Linked DNA regions of Homo sapiens: region 1 is linked to region 2. The links are contacts of gene promoters, found by promoter capture Hi-C in blood cells and fetal thymus (Javierre and others, 2016). All regions are on one chromosome and are shown on one strand. Each heading gives the region's core, a stretch centred on a gene start or on the middle of the fragment in contact. The rest is flanking DNA. Distances are from core to core; before and after follow the strand shown.

The links. The method cuts DNA at HindIII sites, captures the fragments that hold promoters and counts their contacts. A CHiCAGO score of 5 or more calls a contact.
Region 1: a fragment that was not itself captured here is called in contact with the fragment with the promoter of IFNAR1 in region 2 in 1 of 17 cell types (fetal thymus); the score reaches 5.4 in fetal thymus.

What each region holds. Positions count from the first base shown.
Region 1 is chr21:32,728,343-32,731,583 of GRCh38, reverse strand. It overlaps PAXBP1-AS1 (PAXBP1 antisense RNA 1), which reads right to left. Exons shown (of 4, transcript NR_038879.1): 1 at 923-3,241. It also overlaps a transcript of SYNJ1 not described here. Among named protein-coding and RNA genes, the nearest start is that of PAXBP1-AS1, 1.8 kb to the right of the region's middle. The HindIII fragment of the contact is 2,944 bases long and covers 327-3,241 here.
Region 2 is chr21:33,323,420-33,326,470 of GRCh38, reverse strand. IFNAR1 (interferon alpha and beta receptor subunit 1) reads right to left here and starts at 1,501. Exons shown (of 11, transcript NM_000629.3): 1 at 1,340-1,501. The coding sequence starts at 1,415. RefSeq lists cis regulatory regions at 1,512, 1,569-1,578, 2,069, enhancers at 673-1,574, 1,808-1,857, 2,078-2,287, 1,575-2,477 and promoters at 1,490-2,160, 1,514-2,797. The HindIII fragment of the contact is 6,325 bases long and covers 582-3,051 here.

The DNA of each region.
Region 1 (3,241 bases), core at 549-3,048, 600 kb after region 2:
GCTTACCTTTTACTTGTAACCTTAGTGACATTGCTGTTGCTTTGGGACCGAGAGCCAACTTGAACAACTTGAATACAGCTCTAATCTTGAAGGTTGAGCCCTGTTTCTGGCTCCGGCACTTTGATTTCCACAAGAATCTTTGTGTTTCATTAAAATAAACCCCCTTCACTTGATCTCTCTTCAGTTGGTCTCTTGTTCCAAATGAAAATACTTCATTTTTATCTATCACAAGTTTCCTGTTTTCTCTAGTGGCAATTTCCTGTCTATGATACCTGCAAGTTATTTTTCAATCTGTTTTTTTTCCACAGTGATTCTGCTCTCAAGCTTACTAGTTTTTTATTCATAGGATTTCCATTTTTCTAATTTAAAATCTTATCCTTCACTGGTTACAATGAATTTCTTTAAAGAAAAAGCTAATGCTATTTGTAACCTACTGTTGCGTTGCCTTTCAAGACCACTGTTTTCTGTTCGAGCCATTTCTTTCTCAGTCATTGGTGGGGAACATGGCCAGGTACAACTAGGGTCTGCAGATCCTGCTATACTAGGACCAGGATCTGCAGAGCACTATACTAATAACTCTGCAGATCCTGATCCTGATATAAAAGTTAGCTTAGCCTGTGTAACCTGAAAAGAAGCTGTTAAAGGTTACTGAATCAGACTGTTAATATTTCCCTGATCTTCCATGTTGTCTAGCATTTTTGACAAAAAAACAAAAAACAAAAAACGAGCACTACTACTATATTGCCACTATGTGATTTTTTTTTAACCTATGAAAATAACAATTCCATGTTTCAACATAATGAATTGCATATTTCAACTAGAGTTGCCCATAGGAGAAATAACTTGCTCACAAATCAACATCTAGAATTTAGGGTGTTTGTCTTTAATTTGTTCTATTGGATGTGATATCTGAAACACCTACCTGGGGCTGTCTCTCTCCTGATGGAAAGTCACATCAGCCTTGTGTTAATTTCTTGTAGCTGGTGTTACAAATTACCATGAACTGGGTGGTTTAAAACAACAAAAATGTATTTTCTTGCAGTTCTGGAGGCCAGAACCAACAGGGCCATGCTCCTTCCAAAGGCTCTAGGCTCAAATCCTTCCTTGCCTCTTCCAACTTCTGATGGCTGCTGACATAGCTTGGCTATGGCCACATCGCTCCAATCTCTGCTGCTGTCTTCACATCACTTTTTTTTCTCTCTCTCTCTCTCCTGTGTGCGTGTTTAATTTTCCTCTGCCTCCCTGTTATAAGGACACTTATGATTGCATCTAGGGCTCTAGGGCCCACCTGGATAATTGAAAATAATCTCAAGACCCTTAATCAAATCTGTAAACCTAAATTAACATTCACAGACAAGGATCTCTTTTTGAAGTAGCGTTTTTTAGCCTCCCACAGGCTCTTCATTGCACAGTTTCAAGGGTTGAGTTGGTGTCAGCCTGTCTCTGTAGGCCCTTAGGATCTCACTAAGAAGTTTGTGTATGCCACTTAACCTATATTTTAAGTCACCCTATCCCAAAGACATTTCAAGGTCAGTGAAAATTTTTCCAACTATTGTCAAATGCTGTAACAAAAGTAGAAGTATAAATAGGAAAGAGGGACAAGAAAAAGAAGATAGAACCAATCAAGCCACTAGTCAAATTGCCTTTATGTTTTTCAAACTCTGGGCATGTGTCTTTTTCATGACTAAAATGAGATGTGGAAAAGCTGTGGCCTTCTAACAAATCTAGGAATAAGTCTTGCTACCCCCCAGTTTAATTTGAAGAAAGAAGCTGGAATTCCAACCCAGAACCCAGAAATTTTGACCTAAATCTCCTCAGTCCAAAATAAAAAGGAACCAGGAATATGCAGAACACTTGTTCGTAAAAGAGCTTAGTACCCATGCTTCCCACTATAAGAAAGGAAGCATTTCTAGTGTAGCCTTACAGACACACAGGCATGGTGGAAAGGATTTTGGGCTTTGGAGTAAGCAAGTTTGGTTTCAGTACCCAACTCCTCTTGAAACTGAATGATTTCAGTTGTCATAAAAGGTACCTCTCGGCCGGGCGCGATGGCTCACGCCTGTTATCCCAGCACTTTGGGAGGCCGAGGCGGGTGGATCACGAGGTCAGGAGATCGAGACCATCCTGGCTAACACGGTGAAACCCTGTCTCTACTAAAAATACAAAAATTAGCCGGGCGTGGTGGTGGGCACCTGTAATCCCAGCTACTCGGGAGGCTGAGGCAGGAGAACGGCGTGAACCCGGGAGGCGGAGCTTGCAGTGAGCCGAGATCGCGCCACTGCACTCTAGCCTGGGCGGACAGAGCGAGACTCCGTCTCAAAAAAAAAAAGGTACTTCTCAAGCAACACATTTGATATCAACAGTTTTTTCTGAGACAGTACTGACATAGAAATCCCCTCTAGTTCTTAGAACTAAATCCAAGAATCTTTGTGTTTCTCCTTCATGACTTGAAGTGGCTTCTTTTCTAATAAATTTAGTTCCGTGTCCTGAAACCAGGGTGGGTACAGCTTCTCTAAAATGGACGAAAAAATCAAGTCACATGACAGGGCCTGAAGAGGGAAATGATTTTTGCAACATAACCAAATTTAAATCCTGCTTTGGCTGTTGAAAACCAGAAGGAGAAGAGGTAAAGAAAAAGCAAACGCAAGTGGAGACAGTTTGAGTGCTGGGTTCTTCAGGTTTTCAATTTCTTTCTGCCCTGTTGGCTTTGACTTCATTCTCTTTCTTATTAGGTCTATTCAATGGAAGCAGAAATCTATGGGACACGCTGATATTAGCCAGGAAGCACCATTTGTTGAAAAATGAGGATGAGATAAAAGGGTTAGGTGCCTTTAGTTACTAAATTCCACGGTTGGCAAAAGCTATTCATCCGTCGGTGACAACCACAGCTGTCGTGGCCTCCCTACGGCCATGTTTTGTTGGACTCAGCCTTGAGATCCTGGTTTGTGACGTCCCACTCTCCATCGTATACACCTAAGCACTCTTCGATAGAACCCTGTGAGCTCCAGAACACACAAGAAAAGGCACCGAACAGAACTGTCCCAGAGCAGGCATTAGTTTTTCTTCTGCTACCTATCCAGACACTCAGACTAGGAACTCGGTGCCGTTTGCTGGGCTGTCGACACCATGGACAGCTCTTCAGGCGCCACCTGGTTGGCTCGGCGAGCCGACCGTCCCGAGCCCTTCCTCCTCTCCCGTCAGGCCCGTGGGGGCGGCGGGGTTGGTCCTGACGCCCAGCTTG
Region 2 (3,051 bases), core at 252-2,751:
CCAGCACTTTGGGAGGCTGAAGTGGATTGTTTGAGGTCAGGAGTTCGAGACCAGCCTGGCCAACATGGCAAAACCCCATCTCTACTAGAAATACAAAAAATAGCCGGATGTGGTGGCGTGCACCTGTAATTCCAGCTACTCAAGAGGCTGAGGCAGGAGAATCGCCTGAACCTGGGAGGCAGAGGTTGCAGTGAGCTGAGATCACGCCTCTGCACACCAGCCTGGGCAACAGGCTGTCTCAAAAAAAAAAAAAAAAAAGTATAAATAAAAATGTCTTCCCATATTTTGGACAGTTTTCTTAGTCTTGGGTCCTAGAATTGCATTTACTAGTTTAAAAAGTATGACTATTTTTATGACTTCTGAAAGACTGAGCAACATTACAATCTCATTGAGATAACATTTCATTGAGTTTTGAACATGATTATTTCTTTGGGAAAAAAGTAGGTAGTTAAGTAAACCAAAAATAAAATTCTAAGCCCCCCAACAATGTGAATGGACCTCTCCTCTCAACAAATGGCATTCCAAAGTTAATCTGAAAAACTAGTTCAGGCCTTCCACACTGACCATGTCAATTACAAGCTTATCTTCTCAGGTGCAAAACAAAGTCAAGACTCCATCTACCCAGAGGCATCTGCATAACTGACTCCCTTTACTCTCTTTTTCTCTTCAAGACACTCATGGTATCTTAAAATACAGATTTCTTGGGCACTAACTAAATTCTCACAGAACTATTTGCCTTACTGCCTTCCTGCCCCACCTCCTGAAAACCTCTGGAAAACCAGTCACAGACGTGTTTGTGGCTCACGTTTTTCCCGGATGCGCCCTGAAGCAGGCTTAGTAAACCTCGAGAACTGACAATTATGCTTCAGTCACTCCGACTGTCATTTTTTATTGGCCTGTATGAATCCTGAGGGCAGAGAAATCCTGGCCACACTTAGCTCACTCCCCCGTGGGACTGGGCGCCTATTCACCAGATTGAGGAAATGCATTTCGGGAAATGTTTTGTTTATTATCAAACAGACCAGCGGAGCCGCGGTACTTTCCCGGAAAGAATCAAACTCGACACAAAGCTCTGGCACCGCCATTTCACGGGGGTGGGACCCGGGCGCTCCCGAGGACCCGTACACGGCCACAGGCAAGCGGCAAGAGAGGACCCAGAACACCACTTTCTCCTGGTTGATTTGCGAGCCCAGGTCGGGTTTAATCTTTGGCGCGGCAAAGTGGACCGAAGGTTTCCCAGACTGGGCGTCTGTCGCCCCCAACAGCATCGCCGCCCCCGTAGCCCAGCTGCGTGCCCTACCTCCCGCCCTGCGCCAAGACTCTCCTCCCCGCCTCTCACCTGCGGCTGCGGACAACACCCATGGCGCCACGGCGACGAGCACTAGGGTCGTCGCGCCCAGGAGGACGACCATCATCTGGGAGCCGCCGCAGATCCCACCAGTTACATGTTCGCGCACGCGCAGCTCCTCTCAGCCGCCATCGCCCCGTCCTAAGTCACACCGCCCCTCTGCACACGCGCTGCCCCTCTTAGCTCTCACCGCCCCTCTACGCACGCGCCGCCTCTTCTGACACACACACCGCCCCTCCGCGCACGCGCCGTTCCTCCACGCACGCGCCTTTCCTCCTAGCTAGCACCCCTTCTCCAAGCTCCCATTGCCCCATCCTAATTGCAGCACCCCTGTGCGCGCGCGCCTTAGAAATCGCAGGCCTCCTGCATTCTCTTCTTCCTCACTCTTTCCGGCCTATGGCCGGTCTGGAGCACTTCACCATCGCATTCCAGGACGACTCCCCCTCACAGGAGGCCTTGACCTTCACAGGATCGCGGCACACACCTGCGCAGACCCAGCGACTTTGGAGTTCCCGCGTCTCTTCCCCATGTCTGCAGTCGGAGGGCGCGGGTGGGCTCCTGGTCGCGGCCCGGCGCTCTTCGTCCTCGCCCTTCTCCGCCCGGGGCGCTTGCTGACCCTAGAGTCTTGGACAGTGGCGTTGGGAGTCCCCAGCGGCCTGGGAACCAGATGAGGCTGGAAGGAGGAAGTGGCTGAGCGACCAGACCGTTGCTGTGTGCAGAGCGAGAGCGGGGCAGAGGCGGTCGAGCGCTCGTTTTCCGGGCGACTTGGCTGAGGGGCGAGATGGTCCCTTGGAGAGAACAGCCACGGGCCCTGGGCCGAGGGGCTCCAAACAGCAGTCGCTAGGCTGTTTTGGTCGTCGGGCTTTATCAGTAAACAATTCGAGCCCATGGTTCGAATGATTATTTAATTAAATTCCTCAGTAATAGATCCAGTGCATTGTGAAAATATGCGAAATAAAATTTAAATGATGAGATAAAATAAGGAATCAAATACTTCGTTGTTATAACAACCAAGCAATTAATTAGCAATTACATAATTAAATGAATGTTTGTAAAGAACAATGCAATGGAATATATATGTATTCCATCTATATATTCCATCTCTATATTCCATCTATATATTCCATCTCTATATCCCATCACTATATTCCATCTCTATATCCCATCTCTATATTCCATCTCTATATCCCATCTCTATATTCCATCTCTATATCCCATCTCTATATCCCATCTCTATATTCCATCTCTATATTCCATATCTATTCCATCTCTATATTCCATATCTATTCCATCTCTATATTCCATATCTATTCCATCTCTATATCCCATCTCTATATTCCATCACTATATCCCATCTCTATATCCCATCTCTATATCCCATCTCTATATCCCATCTCTATATCCCATCTCTATATCCCATCTCTATATTCCATCTCTATATTCCATCTCTATTCCATCTCTATATTCCATATCTATTCCATCTCTATATTCCATATCTATTCCATCTCTATATTCCATCTCTATATTCCATCTCTATATGCCATCTCTATATGCCATATATATTCCATCTCTATATGCCATATATATTCCATCTCTATATGCCATATATATTCCATCTCTATATTCCATCTCTATATGCCATCTCTATATGCCATCTCTATATGCCATCTCTATATGCCATCTCTATATGCCATCTCTATATG